7 separate regions of the Homo sapiens genome follow, and all the other regions are linked to region 1. The links are contacts of gene promoters, found by promoter capture Hi-C in blood cells and fetal thymus (Javierre and others, 2016). All regions are on one chromosome and are shown on one strand. The core of a region is centred on a gene start or on the middle of the fragment in contact, and the rest is flanking DNA. Distances in the headings are between cores, read along the strand shown.

Evidence for each region. The method cuts DNA at HindIII sites, captures the fragments that hold promoters and counts their contacts. A CHiCAGO score of 5 or more calls a contact.
Region 2: a contact is called between a fragment that was not itself captured here and the fragment with the promoter of H4C12 in region 1, in 6 of 17 cell types (monocytes, non-activated CD4 T cells, total CD4 T cells and 3 more). The highest score is 10.6, in monocytes.
Region 3: the fragment with the promoter of H2BC4 here is called in contact with the fragment with the promoter of H4C12 in region 1 in 15 of 17 cell types (monocytes, M0 macrophages, total CD4 T cells and 12 more); the score reaches 22.9 in monocytes.
Region 4: a contact is called between the fragment with the promoter of H2BC6-AS1 here and the fragment with the promoter of H4C12 in region 1, in 15 of 17 cell types (erythroblasts, naive CD8 T cells, activated CD4 T cells and 12 more). The highest score is 24.1, in erythroblasts.
Region 5: a contact is called between a fragment that was not itself captured here and the fragment with the promoter of H4C12 in region 1, in 16 of 17 cell types (fetal thymus, total B cells, neutrophils and 13 more). The highest score is 32.8, in fetal thymus.
Region 6: a fragment that was not itself captured here is called in contact with the fragment with the promoter of H4C12 in region 1 in 16 of 17 cell types (fetal thymus, erythroblasts, non-activated CD4 T cells and 13 more); the score reaches 28.8 in fetal thymus.
Region 7: a fragment that was not itself captured here is called in contact with the fragment with the promoter of H4C12 in region 1 in 5 of 17 cell types (naive B cells, non-activated CD4 T cells, total B cells and 2 more); the score reaches 7.0 in naive B cells.

What each region holds. Positions count from the first base shown.
Region 1 is chr6:27,830,260-27,832,852 of GRCh38, forward strand. H4C12 (H4 clustered histone 12) reads right to left here and starts at 1,301. Exons shown (of 1, transcript NM_003541.3): 1 at 915-1,301. The coding sequence starts at 1,268. The coding sequence ends at 957. RefSeq lists enhancers at 752-861, 785-1,610. The HindIII fragment of the contact is 8,845 bases long and covers 1-2,593 here.
Region 2 is chr6:26,082,340-26,084,932 of GRCh38, forward strand. No RefSeq gene overlaps it. Among named protein-coding and RNA genes, the nearest start is that of HFE, 3.8 kb to the right of the region's middle. The HindIII fragment of the contact is 4,963 bases long and covers 1-2,593 here.
Region 3 is chr6:26,122,635-26,125,227 of GRCh38, forward strand. H2BC4 (H2B clustered histone 4) reads right to left here and starts at 1,292. Exons shown (of 1, transcript NM_003526.3): 1 at 833-1,292. The coding sequence starts at 1,270. The coding sequence ends at 890. It overlaps H2AC6 (H2A clustered histone 6), which reads left to right and starts at 1,538. Exons shown (of 1, transcript NM_003512.4): 1 at 1,538-2,056. The coding sequence starts at 1,599. The coding sequence ends at 1,991. RefSeq lists enhancers at 1-83, 84-769, 217-1,416, 465-1,204, 1,448-2,593 and 3 more and a silencer at 1,076-1,441. The HindIII fragment of the contact is 15,442 bases long and covers 1-2,593 here.
Region 4 is chr6:26,171,459-26,174,051 of GRCh38, forward strand. H2BC6-AS1 (H2BC6 antisense RNA 1) reads right to left here and starts at 1,315. Exons shown (of 3, transcript NR_186648.1): 1 at 577-1,315. RefSeq lists an enhancer at 389-1,281. The HindIII fragment of the contact is 22,011 bases long and covers 1-2,593 here.
Region 5 is chr6:26,217,850-26,220,442 of GRCh38, forward strand. It overlaps the pseudogene H3C5P. Among named protein-coding and RNA genes, the nearest start is that of H2AC8, 2.2 kb to the left of the region's middle. The HindIII fragment of the contact is 3,747 bases long and covers 1-2,593 here.
Region 6 is chr6:26,236,904-26,239,496 of GRCh38, forward strand. No RefSeq gene overlaps it. Among named protein-coding and RNA genes, the nearest start is that of H4C6, 2.2 kb to the right of the region's middle. The HindIII fragment of the contact is 583 bases long and covers 1,027-1,609 here.
Region 7 is chr6:26,298,868-26,301,460 of GRCh38, forward strand. TRR-TCG4-1 (tRNA-Arg (anticodon TCG) 4-1) reads left to right here and starts at 810; the gene lies at 810-882. LOC124901287 (a long non-coding RNA gene) reads left to right here. Exons shown (of 2, transcript XR_007059520.1): 2 at 1-97. The HindIII fragment of the contact is 1,637 bases long and covers 474-2,110 here.

The DNA of each region.
Region 1 (2,593 bases), core at 51-2,550:
ACCCACAAGGTGATAGTATCCTTAAACCAATTAAATCAGAATCTCGGGTTGGATAACCTCAAATATGACTTATTAGCACTTCCCATTAATCACTGGTCCTTCAGGCCTTTAAGTTTACTTACTAGGAATCTCACTTTTAATACCATCTTATCAACTTCAGTTGTAAATAAGAGAACACTCAAAGGCTGAGGAATTCTCAGCGGTAAAGCTCTGCCCACGTTAAGTAACAAAGGATAAGTTAGTCTTTGTTGTGATCACTTTGTTGTACTGATAAGCTACGTATTTCTACTCAAGGATTCAAATTCTCACCTTTCTCAAGAATTGGGCCAAAACCGATAAACTAAACTTATTTACGGTCCACTGATTAAAGGTTGTTGCATAATAAGTTCTTGCTATGTTCAGCAGTTGGATTCACAGCGCCAGAAACCTATAACTGCTTGACTTTCCTCCCCACTACACTGCGAAAATTGCCCCTTAAATGTAACTAACCCTAAAACCTCAACAGTATCGTGGCCAGGCGTGGTGGCTCACTACTGTAATACCAACATTAGGCATAGGCGAGGGGATTGAGGCCAGGATATCGAAACTAGCCTGGGAAACACACGGAGACCCGGTCTTTGGAAAAATAATTAGCCTTGCGTGGTGGTGGGCGCGAGGTTCCGGCTAATCGGGAGGCTACAGTGAGCCATGATGACACTGCACTACAGTCTGCGCGACGGCCCATGTCAGTAAGCTCTGGAGCACCTGAAACAAGTTGTGTTGGGTATTTTATTTACTGGAGAGCGATTAGTGACTGATGCCTACTTACAGCGACTAGAGACGCATGCTCCGATAGCAGCACAAACTCAGCAGGCGCGAACAAATGGTAAAGAGAAACTGGGCAAACAAGCATCACGGCTCCTCAGCTGAGAAAGTGGGGGCCCTAAAAAGGGCCTTTTGTTGATAGAAAGGGACGCTCAACCACCGAAACCGTAGAGGGTGCGGCCCTGGCGCTTGAGCGCGTAGACCACATCCATGGCGGTGACCGTCTTGCGCTTGGCGTGCTCTGTATAGGTCACGGCGTCCCGGATCACGTTCTCCAGGAACACCTTCAGCACCCCGCGAGTCTCCTCGTAGATGAGGCCGGAGATGCGCTTCACGCCGCCGCGGCGAGCAAGGCGCCGGATGGCCGGCTTGGTGATGCCCTGGATATTGTCGCGCAGTACTTTACGGTGGCGCTTAGCGCCGCCTTTGCCAAGACCCTTCCCGCCTTTGCCGCGGCCAGACATGACGAGCAAGAGGAGTCTCACCCAACGCTTTGTGAGGACTCTGGCCTGAGGCAGCGCCTTTATACGACAGTTGGCGGACCGAACTGAGAACCTGAAAGAAGTCGGCGGGAAGTCCCGCCCCGGTGGGGGAGGGGAAATCTAAAGGGCCAAACCGAAATAGGGGGAAAAAAAAAGCGAGCTTCTTGTTTCCGTGTTCTGAATTTTGTAACGTGCATAGTATTTTGTTACCACGTTATGAGGCTTTAAAAAATTGCTTTTGAACGCAGAAGATATACATCAATACTGTGGGAAATACAAGAAAGGACAAGAAATTAAGAAACTACAATGTTATCCCATCACACAGGCTAGTTAATCATGTATTTTGCAGAGCAGTTGCACATATTTTTCCAAGAAAATGTATACAGTGTTGTATATGGAGTTTTGTAACCTCCTTATATTGATTATAATTTAACCAATTTCTATTAAAGAGATAAAAGTGATGTTTTGGTGTCTATGTTTCTTAGGAATTATCAATAGTTATAATCAGTTCCCCAGCAATTTTTTAATCGGCTGTATTTTAAAAATAATGTTTTCCACATTCAACATAAATGTACTTTTTCTCTATACTTGGGACCAATATTGAAATTTATGATTTTATTACACCAAAATTTAAATTTTATTACATTAATATTTAAAATTGTATTAGAGGTCTCATGATTTGGTACTACGGGTCTCCGCATTATTTCCTTTCCAAATTTCCTAATCTGTTTCACCAAGGTTTCTGGACAACTTTAGAGACCTTTTGTGAAGTTTGAATAAAATCTCTTCGAGATTTTGATAATTGCATTAGCTTTAGGACTTAATTGGAATAGAATTAAAATCCTTAAAACAAGCTCTTATAACTAGAAAATTGGTGTTTGTAGGTTTTGTGTGTGGGGTTTTTTTTTTTTTTTGGAAGGAGTCTCGCTCTGTCGTCAGGCCGGAGGGCAGTGGTGCAATCTCGGCTCACTGCAACCTCCACCTCCCGGGTTCAAGCGATTCTCATGCCTCAACCTCCGGATTAGCGCGGACTACAGGCATGCGCCACCACGCCCAGCTAATTTTTTGTATTTTTAGTAAAGAACAAGTTTCACCATGTTGGACAGGATGCTCTTGATCTCTTGACATCGTGATCCGCCCGCCTCAGCCTCCCAAAGTGCTGGGATTACAGGCGTGAGCCGCTTCGCTTGGACGCTTGTAGGTTTTTAAAAAGACACTTTTATATGACCCAACTAAAGATTTGTTATCAACCATTATGGAGCAACTTTGATTCCGTATATTTGATTTTCTTTCTTATTAATAAATAC
Region 2 (2,593 bases), core at 58-2,557, 1.7 Mb before region 1:
CTCAAGTGATCTGCCCGCCTCATCCTCCCGAAGTGCTGAGATTACAGGTGTGAGGTACAGCATCTGGCCTCATGCTGAGATTTCTTTCATTACCAGTTCAAACACCTTTCACTTTTCAAGGCACAAGGAGAGGAATTCCATGTGTTGACACTGGGAGGAAGGGTACAGACCTACTTAAAAGATTCAAAACTTCTATGACAGTAAAAGAAATGTATATCAAGTTCCTTAGGGCTGCCGTAACAAAGTACTATCAACTGGGTGGCTTAGAACAAAAGAAATTTATTCTCTCACAGTTACGTAGGCCAGTTGAGATCAAGGTATTATCAGGGCCAAGATCCCTCTGTAGCCTCTGGGGAAGGATTCTTTCTTGCCTGTTTCCACTTCTAGCAGCTTCCTGTGTTTGGTTTGTGGCAGCATAACTCCAATCTCTGCCTCCATCTCTACCTGGCCATCATCCCTCTGTGTCTGTGAGGACCCCAGTCATTGGTTGGAGGACTCACCCTATTCCACTATAATCTCTTCTTAACCAGTGAACTCACCGTATTCCAGATAAGGTCAGGTTCACAGCTACTGAGGGTTAGGACAGAGTATCTTTTGGGGAGATGCAATTCATCCCATAAGTGGGTGGAAAAGGATGATTAACAAGTGGTATGTGGGGATGTATTGTTTTGCATCTACGTAGCTCTCACCCCATTTCTTTCCACAACACACATTTGTCACTCTATTCTTTATTAGGTTTACAGAGAAAAGTAGATCTTCAACCACTTTCCTGGGATGTGGATACAGCTCTTTTTTTGGAGACAGGGTCTCATTCTGTCACCTAGACTGGTGTGCAGTAGCACTATCATGGCTGACTACAGCCTCAATGTCCCAGGCTTAAGTGATCTTCCCAACCTCCTGAGTGGCTGGGACCACAAGTGTGTGCCACCACACCTGACTAATTTTATTTTTTAATTGTTTTGTGAAGACAGCATCTCCCTATGTTTCCCAGGCTGGTCTTGAATTCCTGGGCTCAAGCCATCCTCCTGCCTCGGCCTCCCAAAGTGCTGGGATTACAGGCAAGAGCCTCCATGCCTGGCCTTCAACTCTTGACCTTATGAACACAGCCCTATACCAGTTCCCTTCATGCATGTGCCTATAAGCTAAACCCTTTCCCAAGTGTACATGAAAATCTGAACCCCAACAAATATGGCCTAATTCTAAATCTGACTTTCCCAGGAGTAATTTTTGTCATTTCCAGCTTACCAGCCTTTGTGAGTGTTGAATTTCAGCATTTCTGTTTGCTTGCAGCAGAAGGTGGAGCCAGGATAGGGTGGCTCAAGATTAGAGTTTCTTCCTTAACAGTTCAGTCAACTTTTTAATCTTGGATTTATAGCTTCCTACCTGCTCTCTTAAAGGTGAAATGATCTATTCACCTTCAGACCATTTGCCCTCGGGGTCTCACTGAGCAATCTATGGCTTAAGTCTTCTAAGTCTCTTAATGGCCAAATACAATGGACAATTTTCAGGTATATCTGACACCATTTCTCTGCAGCCTTTGGCACCTATAACCACTCCATGGCTTCCACAATGTGATTGGTCATTTCTTTTTTGTTTATATGACAAGTTTTTATTCTTCTTCTGCCTGTTAAATGCGCCTGACCCCCAGTGTTCTGATTTTCACTATTTTTCTTAAAAAAAAAAGTTTAAATGAAAAAAGTTTCTTATGAAAATATTAAAACATATACAAAAATAGAATAGACATTGATAATAGATCCTAAAATTCCTAGGGAAATTCAGCAGACTGAGAATAGCTAATATAGTCTTCCAAAAAAAGATCAAATTTGAAGTTGAGAAACTTCTTGAATTCAATTTACTAAAAAGCTATAGTAATCAAGACAGTGTAGTCCTGACATAAAGATAGGATTATAGTCTGGGTGTGGTGGCTCATGCCTGTAATCCCAGCACTTTGGGAGGCTGAGGTGGGCAGATCACCTGAGGTCAGGAGTTCCAGACCAGCCTGACCAACATGGTGAAACCCCGTCTCTACTAAAAATACAAAAATTAACCAGGCATGGTGGCAGGTACCTGTAATCCCAGCTGCTTGGGAGGCTGAGGCAGGAGAATTGCTTGAACCTGGGAGGAGGAGCCAGTGGCCGGGATTGGGCCACTGCACTCCAACCTGGGCAATAGAGTGAGGCTCTGTCAAAAAAAAAAAAAGATAGGATTATAGATTATAGCATAATGGGATAAAATTGAGACTCCAGAAATAAACTCTCACATTTATGGTAGATTGATTTTTGATAAGGGTGCCAAAACACTTCAATGAAAAAAGAGTCTTCTCAACAAGTGATGGTGGAACAACTGAATAACCACATTTTTGTTCTATCTGGGGCCCTGATTCAAAAACCCAGGCAAAGATGGAGAGAAATCAGAACTCTCATACACTGCTGATAGGAGGATAAAATGCTTACTTTGGAAAAGAATGTGGCAATTCCTCAAAAGGTTAAACAGTGTTACCATATGACCCAGCAAACCCACTTCTAGATATATAACCAAAAGAAATCAAAACATAAGTCTACAAAAAAACTTGTACATAAATGTTTATAACAGC
Region 3 (2,593 bases), core at 42-2,541, 1.7 Mb before region 1:
CAGTGTTCGAAGGCTTGTCAATTTACCCAGCAGTTAAGAGTTGGCTTCTCCTAAAGCAACTTTCAAACTTGTCTGCATGTTACAAGCCCCCTACGGAGATTTTAAGTTTCAATCAGGCAACACACCATTTATGGCTGACTGAGCACTGGGATTCAAGCAAAATTTGATTTGATTTGAATCTTGAATAAACCAGTTGAATAGAATAAGATGTATGAAGCAACATCTGGCGCAGTGCTTACATCTTTAGTTCTGTACTGCCTTAGTGTTGTTATCAAAACTGACGCATATTAGGTTAAAAGACTATTACCGGGGCAGTTGGAAACCCAGGAGACACACCCTTCAGTATACTACGAAGGTGTGCGCCACGAAAACAGAGGGGGAGTCCTTCCTTAGGCAGTTACTGCCCAGGTTCCCACTCCGGTCCGCTATGTAAATCAGAGTCTCAAAACAGCTTTCCCTCGATTGGTTAATATTTAAAATGACAGGACAGCCTATTGGCTAGAAGCTGGTGGCGAAATTATGACATTACGGCAACCGTTGATCCTGGCGACGTAGACAGGGACAGACAGCTGGGTCTGAAACCTAAGCGAGCCTGCGGTTTCTTCCGGGAACGCCGAGTTAGCAAAATGGCCGCTTGTCTCCATTTTAAATTTAAGCACAACGAATTGACCCCAAAGCCATTTTTAATGGCTGGCTTCTTTCGGGTTCAGGACCCTTTGTCCCTCTCTAAGCTGCAACACTTGTCCCCACCCCTCTCCAGTTCCTATATTCTAATACCCCTCCGCCGCCAAATAAAATTTGGCGTCTGGCCACAGCTCTTTTAGTGGGTATCTGGGTGGCTCTTAAAAGAGCCTTTGGGGTTAGGTGTTAAGACGCTTACTTGGAATGTTTACTTGGAGCTGGTGTACTTGGTGACGGCCTTGGTGCCCTCCGACACGGCGTGCTTGGCCAGCTCTCCGGGAAGCAGCAGGCGCACGGCCGTCTGGATCTCCCTGGAGGTGATGGTCGAGCGCTTGTTGTAATGCGCCAGGCGGGAAGCCTCGCCCGCGATGCGCTCAAATATGTCGTTAACGAAAGAATTCATGATGCCCATGGCCTTGGAAGAGATGCCAGTGTCGGGATGGACCTGTTTCAGCACCTTGTACACGTACACAGAGTAACTCTCCTTGCGGCTGCGCTTGCGCTTCTTGCCATCTTTCTTCTGCGCTTTGGTCACTGCCTTCTTGGAGCCCTTCTTCGGGGCGGGAGCAGACTTGGCTGGCTCAGGCATCTTAAAACACCAGAAATGTGTCGAAAGTAAAGAGCGGATTTCTGCTACTTATAGGGCTTTTATGCTAATGAGGGATGGAGAGTACCTCTTAGTTAATTGGAAGACAAACTGCACAGTTGTCATCCGTGGGCAGAGCTATGCAAATGAGGTATGAAAGTACAGCTTTTCTATTGGCTATCTGACTAGCATTTGCTACCGACCAATCAAAAAGTCGGATTTACTCCCCAGGAACTACCTATAAAAGCGGCCATGTTTTACATATTTCTTGATTTTGTTTGTTTTCTCGTGAGCTTAGGCCGCTGGTTTTGGTGATTTTTGTCTGATTGCAATGTCTGGACGTGGTAAGCAAGGAGGCAAAGCTCGCGCCAAAGCGAAATCCCGCTCTTCTCGCGCTGGTCTCCAGTTCCCGGTGGGCCGAGTGCACCGCCTGCTCCGTAAAGGCAACTACGCAGAGCGGGTTGGGGCAGGCGCGCCGGTGTACCTGGCGGCGGTGTTAGAGTACCTGACCGCCGAGATCCTGGAGCTGGCCGGCAACGCGGCTCGCGACAACAAGAAGACTCGCATCATCCCGCGCCACTTGCAGCTGGCCATCCGCAACGACGAGGAGCTCAACAAACTGCTAGGCCGGGTGACCATTGCTCAGGGCGGCGTCCTTCCTAACATCCAGGCCGTGCTTCTGCCTAAGAAGACCGAGAGTCACCACAAGGCCAAGGGCAAGTGATTTGACAGGTATCTGAGCTCCCGGAAACGCTATCAAACCCAAAGGCTCTTTTCAGAGCCCCCCTACCGTTTCAAAGGAAGAGCTAACCTCACTGCTTGTAGGTAGAAGGAAAAAAGGCACTAAGGTAAGTTAATTTTATGCCAACCTTGAGCAAAGCGTATTACTGCTTTTCGGTTTTTGGGGAGCGCTGTTACTAAAGGTTGGTCTGTTTGTATGTAATAGTAGGTCAGTTACGTACTATCATACTCTAAAGAAATATTCTAGTTAATGCTTTGTAAGATCGACCATAGTTAGTGCCTAACAGTTTACATGCAGGGATGCCTCGTGATCTAAACACTTCGTTGTGATTACTTTAAAAATGTAAATTGAAGGCAAAACTCTAACGTGTTGGTAACCTTGTTTGGTCCTCCGACTAGTCCCCCGTCTATTTTTTTCTCAATTTAGGCTGTAGGCAGCCTCACTTTCCTAATTCTGTGAGAGTTATAGGTCCCATTCCTGCTAAAGTGCAGAGTATATTACCTAAAAGTTAACCAGGGAGTTGAAAGGTGTCTGTAAAACAGACTAATGTCCCTAATGTAGAACGGTGCCTGACATGCAACTTA
Region 4 (2,593 bases), core at 65-2,564, 1.7 Mb before region 1:
AGGCCTAAGCACTGATGTGGCTTTGGTAATGAACCTGAAGTTAAAAACTGGTTAGCTTATGCTAAGCTGCCATTTGAAAGGTCTCCTCCAGCATCTGAATTAAGGGAAACAATGTTTTGAAGCAGTCACAAAACTTTTCTGATGCATTAGATCTGAGGTAGGACCTGATAATTTGTACTTCTAAATTATGCAGGTGATGCTGATGCTGCTGGTCCGGAGACCACTTTGGAGAGTTTTACTTTAAAGGAAATGAAACTGCCCTAAAATGCTAATACTAAATAGCCACACAAAGCCGGAAAAAAGCAAAGAATTTCAAACCGAAGATGAGAGGTCCTGAAAAATAACAGCGGTCATCCTACTCCCGGTGCGGCTATGCGGCCATGAAAAGGAGTCTTGGGGCCGGTCGTGCCCCTCCACGCAGGCTCCCTCATAGGGTCATCCCATCAACCCTCGCCAAAAACGCCGGCCCCCTCATAGGGCCGTCCGGCCACGCCCCTCCGTGCCCTAACCACAGAGCCACACGTTACGCCGCCGCCCCGTTACGCCCATCCGGCTCCCGCATAGGGCGTCACGTACGTTTAACGTCGGCCCGGCGCGCGCGTCCGGGAGGTTGCCCGTAGGCCGCTAACTGGTGGTTCCCAGTCCCCGCCGACTCGGCCTCTTTCTTCTGCGGCCACCAGATCGCGGGATATCGGAGACTTCGAACAATCCGCTGGAGTCCTTTACAGTTTAAAAACAGAGGACCGGCCGGGCGCGGTGGCTCACGCCTGTAATCCCAGCACTTTGGGAGGCCGAGGCGGGCGGATCACGAGTTCAGGAGATAGAGACCATCCTGGCTAACACCGTGAGACCCCGTCCCTATCAAAAGTACAAAAAAATTAGCCGGGTGTGGTGGCACGCGCCTGTAGTCCCAGCTACTCAGGAGGCTGAGGCAGAAGAATCGCTAGAACCAGGGAGGCGGAGGTTGCAGTGACCGAGATCGCGCCGCTGCACTCCAGCCTAGGCGACAGAGCGAGACTGCGTCTCAAAACAAAAAAAACGGAGGATCGAAAATTTTGAAGACTGAGAGCAAGGCAACAATCTTCCCTTGACCTTTTTGCTCCTCTCACAAGGGTTTTTCAGACGGCTGAAACCAACGAAAAGAGTGAGGAAGCAGGCAGAAAATTTCAGCTTTAGTCTCTCAGCATCCTCCTGCTTTCTTCTCGGGGAGCTGGCACTTCCCCCTTCTCTAGTAGCTGTAAATACGCCTCCCAACTCCAAGGAGACCTTTCTTGCATCTCCCTTACTGTTCTCACGCCTGTAGGGCTCTTCGTGTGAGGATTCAGTGTATGTATGTATGTATATGAATGTGTGCGAATAATTATTTCCTAATTGAGTTTTTTTTTAAAAAAATCATCTTCCGGTACACGCAGTGCCGTACTCCATTAAACAGCAGGCACGGTGTCTAGGGTCCGCAGTTCTTTTGGAGGCTCATGAAAATATTTTAATTTCTTCTAAAGTCAGAAGGAAAAAAATGAACATTTAAGTCGAAGAAGATGTTACATATTAATCTTCATATGACTTTAATTTTTTTTTTTTTTTTTTTGAAACGGAGTCTCGCTCTGTCCCCCAGGCTGGAGTACAGTGGCGCAGTCTCGGCTCACTGCAAGCTCTGCCTCCCGGGTTCACGCCATTCTCCTGCCTCAGCTTCCCGAGTAGCTGGGACTACAGTCACCACGCCCGACTAAGTTTTTTTGTATTTTTTAGTAGAGACGGGGTTTCACCGTGTTAGCCAGGATGGTCTCGATCTCCTGACCTCGTGATCCGCCCGCCTCGGCCTCCCAAAGTGCTGGGATTACAGGCGTGAGCCACAACGCCTGGCCTATGCCCACTAATTCCAATTCTTATTTGATCTAATTGTTTATAGATTCTTGTGAACTTTTACCTTGACAATTATGTTATTTTCAAAGATAATCATCTTTTCCTATTGAATCCTTGCTCTTCTGACTGCCTGTTCCTATCTCATGGTATTGGCCAAACCCTGTGATGCCGTGTTGAATAGGAGTACTTTCTCACCACACTTGTCTTCCTTCCGCCTCTATGGGAATCCTTCCAAAACGGCACCATTAAGTGTTATACTCGCTGTAGCTCCTCCTTATGAAGTTCTCTTCTCATTGTAGTCTGTTAAGTGTTTATGATTAAAGAGTGTTATATTTTGTTAAATGCTTTCGCAGTATCTTTGGAGATGATCATGTTTTTTCTTTATTAATCTCTTTTTTATTTTATTTATTTTATTTTATTTTATTTTATTTTTTATTATTTTAGTTTTTATTTTGAGATGGAATCTCACTCTGTCTCCCAGGCTGGAGTGCAGTGCCCTGATCTAAGCTCATTACAACCTCTACCTCCCAGGTTCAAGCGATTCTTCTGCCTCACTTTCCCAAGTAACAGGGACTACAGGTGCGTGCCACCACATCTGGCTAAGTTTTGTATTATCAGAAGAAGATAGGCCGCCATTGGCCAGGCTGGCCTTGAACTCCTGACATTAAGTGATCCACCTGCCTCAGCCTCCTAAAGTGCTAGGAATACAGGCGTGAGCCACTGCTCTGGGCCT
Region 5 (2,593 bases), core at 35-2,534, 1.6 Mb before region 1:
GGCTCAGTGGCTCATGCCTGTAATCCCAACACTTTGGGAGGCCAAGGAGGGCGGATCATAGGGTCAGGAGTTCGAAATCAGCCTGCCCAACATAATGAAAGCCCGTCTCTACTAAACAAATACAAAAAGTAGCCGGGCGTGGTGGTGTGCATCTGTAGTCCCAGCAACTTGGGAGGCTGAGGCAGGAGAATCGCTTGACTCCGGGAGGCAGAGGCTGCAGTGAGCCGAGATCACGCTATTGCACTCCAGCCTGGGTAACAGAGCAAGACTACGTCTCAAAAAAAAAAAAAAAAAAAAAGACTACATTCCTCTAGTGAGAATTGTGTTTGTTGGATTTCTCTTTTCAAAAGGAGCAATTAACACAGTATTCTAAAATAAACACTAAACGAAACTAAGCAGTAACGGCCTGACGCCCTAGGTCAGACCTGTAATCCCAGCAATTTGAAAGACTAAGGCAGAAGAATCGCTTGAGCCCAGGAGATCAAGACCAGCCTGGGCAATAAAGCGAGACAGCCCCCTCACCTCCACAAAAAGTAAAAAGCCTGCCCTGCCCGGTGGCTCATGCCTATAATCCCAGCACTTTGGGAGGCCGAGATGGGCGGATCACTTGAGGTCAGGAGTTCGAGGCCAGCCTGGCCAACGTGGCAAAACCCTGTTTCTACTAAACATACAAAAAAATTAGCCAGGCATGGCGGTGGGCTCCTGAAATCCCAGCTACTCGGGAGGCTGAGGCAGGAGAATCGCTTGAACCCGGGAGGCGGGGGTTGCAGTGAGCCAAGATCATGCCATTGCACTCCAGCCTGGACAATAGAGCGAGACTCCGTCGTCTCAAAAAAAAAAAAGAAAAGAAAAGAAAAAGCCTGGCCTGGTGGCTCAGTCTGAGATCTTAGATACTTGGGAGAATTACGCGGGGAAGGATTGATTGAGCCCAGGAGTTCGAAGCTGCAGCGAGCTATGGGGGGCAAAGCAAGATCCTGTTTAGGAAAGGAAAAAAAAAAAAAAACAAAAAAAACCCAGCAGCAAAAACTTAGTTTTATGACCTAAATTTATAAATGGACTACACTGTAAAGCACAATTAATTATTCAACTTTAGTAGAAATCCAGTCACATTTCTCTGTAAAAAATCTCAAATCTAATTGGATCACACACCAGGCCCTATAAAGAGAAGTGATCTGTAAATCTGATATGAAAGGTCATGGCCTGCACCAAGCCAACCACACGGAAGTCCACTGGTGGCAGACAGCCTCCTAAGCAGCTGGCCACCAAGGCAGCCAGCAAGAGCACTCTGGCCACCAGCAGCTTGAAGGTGTCCCTCAGATATAGGCCCTGAATCATGCTGAAATTCATCGCTACCAGAAGTCACTGAGCTACTTAAGGGAAAAGCTGCCCTTTCTTAAATGTTAGGACAAGGTTGCTGAATGAGATTATTAAAAAAATTAATGCCCCTAGGGTTCTAAATAATTGCAGTTATATGTGTTCCACTGAACAGAAGTTATTGGCATCACAAATAATTTGCATCAAAAATAATTTCTGGTGATACAAATAACAGAAATTATTTGCATCACCAGACAAAAGCCTCCAAGAAGTAACTTCGATAGTTTGATACCTTTAATCAATGGTAAATTGTGAGATGATGTAAGCACATTTCCCTGCAAACTTTGTAAAAACTATAAATTTTTTATAGTGGGATACATTCTTCCCCCTCCCTTTTTTCCTCACAAGTCTTACAATGTTTCTTAAATAAAATTTTCACTAAAACACGATTAAAATATAGCAATTGCAAGATAAATGTCTATGAAGCCCCATAGTATAACTCCCTGACATTCTTTACTCAATCAAATTGGGGCTCAGAAACAATACCCCAAAATGAAGGCCAAAGAAGCAACCTCAGAAGCAAAATTTTTCTGTGACTTTCTCCTGCCCTCTTGTCTCTCAGTCCCATTCTCCCCTGAGGCTAGACATAGAAACTAGAATTCCGGTTTCCCAAGGTGGCTTATGACAACCAGAATCCTTTTTCCCCAAAGCCAACCACAAAAACTAAAAATATTACTCTAACTTCCCTTCCAACTTTTCGTGTAAAAACTGGACACAGAGAAATTATTTGATCCACCTTGTTTAATTGCAGGTCATAAGACCCCATTCCAGAGATGGAGCTGTCCCATACCCAATACCCAGAAGGAAGGAATGCATGTTCAAAGAGGTGAGGGATGAAATGAAAATTCTAAACCCCTTTGACAGAATAATGGACCCTCCTTTGGCTAAAAGACCCCAAAAGTTTAAGTTCCCAGGCATGACAGGATGGAGGCTGCACATCCTGTTTGTTTCTACCCCTCTTCCCCTTTCTAATCACTGCTAGATTTTCTCAAAGTCCGATTTGAGGGAATAATACACCGGAAAGCCCTTTTACTTACTTTATCTGGCCTCTTCCACCCTCCTCCATGGTGGTCCAGACAAGACAGATATTAAGGACCATAGAGTTTCTTGATAAATGACTGCAGGCCCACAACTGGTTGTGACCAGTCTCCTGAGAATGCAGATCATGGACTTCTGCCCTACATTTCAGTTTTATATATAGGACCTAATTATAACTCAT
Region 6 (2,593 bases), core at 68-2,567, 1.6 Mb before region 1:
CTGGGACTTAAGACCGTGTTATACACCACTGAAATACAAATGTGGTTTATAAAAAAGCTAAACTTATAGAATTGGATTAGTAGGACCCCACAATTCCAGTAGGGAAGCATTTTATAGGTTTCTGGAGGCAGGGGCGGTGCATCATTATGGATATCATTTTCAACAGTGATAGTCACAAGCATACTCTAAGTATTTTTTTTTGGGACCATAGCTTTATATTGCCTAGACGTAAAGGTACAATTAAAATTCAGATTGTTTACTGTTTATTATTTTGATCATTATTGTAGTCTTAATAGTTGTTGAATAATTGTTGGAATTGTTCACCGTGTTAGATATAGTCAATTAACAGATGCCACCATTTCATTCTTGTGCAACACTGACTGGTTCCCATAGCTACTTAGGATCTCAGTAAGTAAAAAGGCATTGGGCTAACTAATCTCTGCTCTTTCTGGAGGGCAATAACTGAGACTCAGTTTCACCAACAAAGTTCGCCAGATGTTCAAAGAGGAAAGGGGCTAGGCTACATAAGTTGGGACCTGGTACTTATCTTCTCTGTAATTGTAGCAAGGACAAGGTTCCTGAAAGCTGGATCACCCCATGGACTGTAAACTTGAAGTCCTGCAAAGTTTCACCTATTACTTTGGTAGCCCTCAAAAAGAGTTCTGTGTTGCTTTGGAATCCTAAATCTGAATATAATCTAAAACAGTAGATTTCCCATTACACTGAGGTTGGAACCATTTATTTTATAGATGCAAAAAGTAGCTAGGAAAAACTAGTTAGATAAGTGATAGCTATCTAACTTAAGGCCCAGTGTTCTCTTCATTTTGTGTTAACTCCCCCATCCCCACCACCACCATAGTAAATGACTATGAGAGTTGTAGGTAGTATTCAATAGATCAATCCAGTGACACTGTGCTTAAGCATCACACAATTCAGATTTTAAAGATTTCCAAAAAAAAAAAAAGAAACTATATAGAATAAATATTAAAAGGGGTGAAAACATATATAGACTATTATAGAAAATAAAGCTTTGTGTTAGAATCAAACGTGTTCAAAAAGTCCATGAGAAATCACATCGATTGTAACCGTCTATGAGGTAGTCTTACCTGAGGACACTGGCTCCTTGAAATTCCTCTTCAAGTACAACAGTATTGTGTTAATTTTATTTCCTAAGAAGGCCACTACTATACTCAAACTTACAGTTTTCTCTTTACATGTCTCAGGCATCCACCAAACTCCCTCCTCCCTTCTAGACTGGATTAGAAGCTCTTCAGAAGAAACCCCCTTATCACAGATACAGCCCAATAAAACTTTCTGCGATGATAAAAATATTCTGTATTAACACTGTCCAATAGGTAGCCACTAACCATATGTGGCTACTGAGTACCGTAATGTGGCTAGAGTAAGTGTGCAAATTAATTTTTAATTTAAATTAATTTAAATAAAAATGAGCACATGTTGCTAGTGGCTAATATAGGACAGCAGAGCTTTAAAACAATTATTCTCAAACTTGGAAGAGCATACCTACCACCCACTTAGAGATCTCATTAAAAATGTAATATCAATTCCATTGATTTGGGGTTGGGCCCGAAATTCTGTATGTCTAACAAGCTTCAGAGTGATGCCAGTATAGCTGGGATATGGCTGCTCCGCCCTTAAATACCTGACAGTAAGTAGAAGTATGCTGGTCTGATATCTGCCCCCTAACCCTGAGTGTACTTTTCCCTTTACTAAACTTTTGAGTTCTTTAAGAGAATAAATGTGATTATCTTTGTAAACCTGGTATTTGTACACTATTCTTGGCATGTAGTGGACATTAAATTGTTGAATGAATGAATGATGCTTGTTTGGTGCCTACCTCAAAAAGGAGAGCACTTGAGATCCTTGTGTCTATTCCTACAGGTAACTGAACCTAAGCCAAAATTTAAGTAGACTCTTAACTCCACAAAATGAATAATCTTCTCACTGCTTTTAGGCACCAGCAGAGACGGGATTTTTAAGTTACCCTTGCAGTATATAGGAGGCAATGAATGTGAAGCAGTAGACTGTAAGAGTTAATGTTGAATTTTTCTACTACACATACCCTATGATCTGTGTGTAGAACACTTCTTCCGGAATCTTTTATTAGGACAGTATTTCACAGAATTTATTAGTATTATTTTTGTTAATTTACAAACCTTTATTCACCATGATTTACCATGTATGCTTTAGTGGCATGAAAGCAGTGGTAGGTAGCAAGGTAGTGAGACTCCAGAATCGAGCCAACAATACAATGCCATTTATTAGAGGATAATGTCTTCAAGCCTGGGATTCCTTATCTTTACACCTCAGATATTGCATTATACATTGAAAAACTAAGAATGAAACTTCAATTAATATTGGTTTCCCTTACTAGAGGTCTTTCTTTATTAGGAATGCCAAAAACGATGTGAATGTATATGTCTCTGCCAAACGCTAAGTCTCATGATTGGCCAAATTTAAGAAGTATTGCTACATTTTAAGAATTAATAAAAATGGCCGGGCGTGGTGGCTCACGCCAGTAATCCCAGCACTTTGTGAGGCCAAGGTGGGTGGATCACCTGAAGTCAGGAGT
Region 7 (2,593 bases), core at 42-2,541, 1.5 Mb before region 1:
TATCTTCTCCATAGTATGATGCTAATGCATTACATTTTCGTGTTGATTCATCTATTAAATGTAAAAATTGTTAATAATAAAAATTTTTGCATTTCTATTTCGTGTTCCTTCACTTCTTAATATATGGGAACCTCAAAAACTGGTAATGGCTCTAGTCCGCTCGGCACTCCTGAGAAACCCCAAGGAAAGTATTTTCTTTCCTTTCTAAACAGAACCATACCACGAAAAGTGCTCTGATATCACATTATCACAATCAGAGAAAGTACCAGAACAGCATGGAGAGGGGGTAATTGTCTCCGGGGTCTGCAGATATCCATGCAGGATGGCGAGAAAGACCACGGTACAGATGTTGCCTTGTGGTAAAACTGCCTTCCAGGTACAGTTTTCTTAACAACTATCTGGGCAGACCCTGCAAGAACCTAGTCTGTAAATGGTGAATGTGGATGAGCATCATAGGGAAGAAACCTTGAGTAAGCTTATTTTAACATATCCTTCGATGCAGACAATATGCAGAATTTTAGCATCTTTTAGATGCCATAAACTCCGCTTCTTCTGCCTTGGGAGTCAGAACAAACGACTTTTCTCTCCAAGGAGTAGTTATATTACCACAAGACTAAAATAATTGTCGATACCAACCGTTTATAAATCCCGATTCTGTGGCCCCAAATATCCCACCTAATCTAAAGTTTTCATTTTCTCATTGGCGAAAACACGGGCGCTGTAGATGCCAACACGGGGGGTTGGAGGGGGCGGGTGGGGGGAAGCTCGTTTTATTTTCTAAGTATTGCAGCAACAACGGAACTGCGGGGGACCACGTGGCCTAATGGATAAGGCGTCTGACTTCGGATCAGAAGATTGAGGGTTCGAATCCCTTCGTGGTTAAGTGGGGTTCGTTTTCGGGCATGAAAATTTTATTACCCATTTCATTCCAAGAAAAAAATAAATCATACACTCTCTGGGTTTTCTGAATCCTTTTTTTCTTCCATCTCCTCTCCTTTAAAGGGAAGAAGGAGACATTCTCAAAGGCCTTAGGAGAACAAGTGACAGAGTGAAGAAAGACTGGAAAGTCAAAACTGAAATACAGCCATCTACTACTTTGGAGCTGTCAGGTTCTCCCCAAGTTTGGATTTTAAGCACCTGCGTTTCGGTTTTGTAGGCTTAGATTCAATTCAAGGATTCAATTCCTTGAAAAAAAGAAATTCAGATCTATAAGCCAAGCTGTCTCAAACTGTAGCGTCTCAGACTAATGCCAGGCCCCAGTGGCTAGCACAGTAGGAAACCTGTTGCTTCTTCTGATTTAGCACTAGGCCAAAAACTCTTCACATTTCTTTTTTAGTCTACATCCGCGTGTACCAAGGAGTTTTGGCAGCTGCTGAAGCCTATGTTACTAGTTCTTACTCTCCATTTTAACTTTTTTGTTGTGGGTGTGTTGCCATCAAAAGGATGAGAATACCTAATATTGAATTTTATATTGCAAAGCAAAAATATAAAGGTAATTAAAATAGTCCAACTGGTTACAGTGTGTGTGTGCAAACAGGAAAAGACAGGGAACACAGCTGTGCAAAATATATAAAAAACATTTTGTATTCCTAAATAACATTTTGTGTGCCTGAATTTAATAATAATTTAGGATTAAGGAAAAGTAATTTCCAATTGCTGACATCATGATGAAACATAAGACATTTGACTCCATCCAGATGAGATCATTGATTCAAATCACATGGAGTCCATAAGTGTGTTTCTAGATCAAAGCAAAGAATATTAAAATTAGTAATAATTACCTCTCCCTGTCCCCAGCTTCTTCCATAGCTCTGTTTGATTCTGGTTTCCTCTAGTCATCTGTAGATTCCAAGTTGTATAAAAAATGTGGGGATTGAGCATTGGTTTCCAGACTTTGAAATTTATTGGATTAGAAAGTGTCAATGTCCTAATGTCATGCAAAACCATGTTCTGCCTTGTTAATGGCAAAACCCACCATTTGCACTGAGCATCCTTTTATAAACTAGAAAAAGGATATAACCTCAAAAGAAGAGTAACCTTTTAAAATGAATACAGTGATACTTGAGAATTACATAGCCCACCTTTTTTCTTGATTCTAAGAACAGGAAAAAGCTTCCTCCTCTCTCTCTGATCAGTATGTAACCCTGTGTACCAGAGGATGAACAAGACTTTTTCCAGGGGCCCCACAGCCTCCCTCAAGCATTTAATGAAAGTGGAAATTCTGATGCAAGAATATAAAAATTTGCCTGTCATAACCCTTTCTCTCTTCTTTTTCTTTCTTTCTCTACTGCACTGATAGCAAAGAATGCCAAAAGGAGGAGAGAGACTTTCCAGACTGGGAAGTGCCAAAAGGGAGAAAACTGAAAAAGATAGGGAAATCTGTGGACATCCTGAGTCTTAAATGGTCACCGTGATTTAGGAACTTGTCCCAAATCCACCAAATAAAAATATATGCACCCTTTGATGAATGTGTAAGCCTTTCTGCTTTGAGAGTGGGATTCAGAAAATAAATAAATAAATAACATGAAAAACATCTTTTGGAGCTGGATTAAAAAAAAGCAACTGGAAGAAAATAAATCAAGAAGAAAGATTT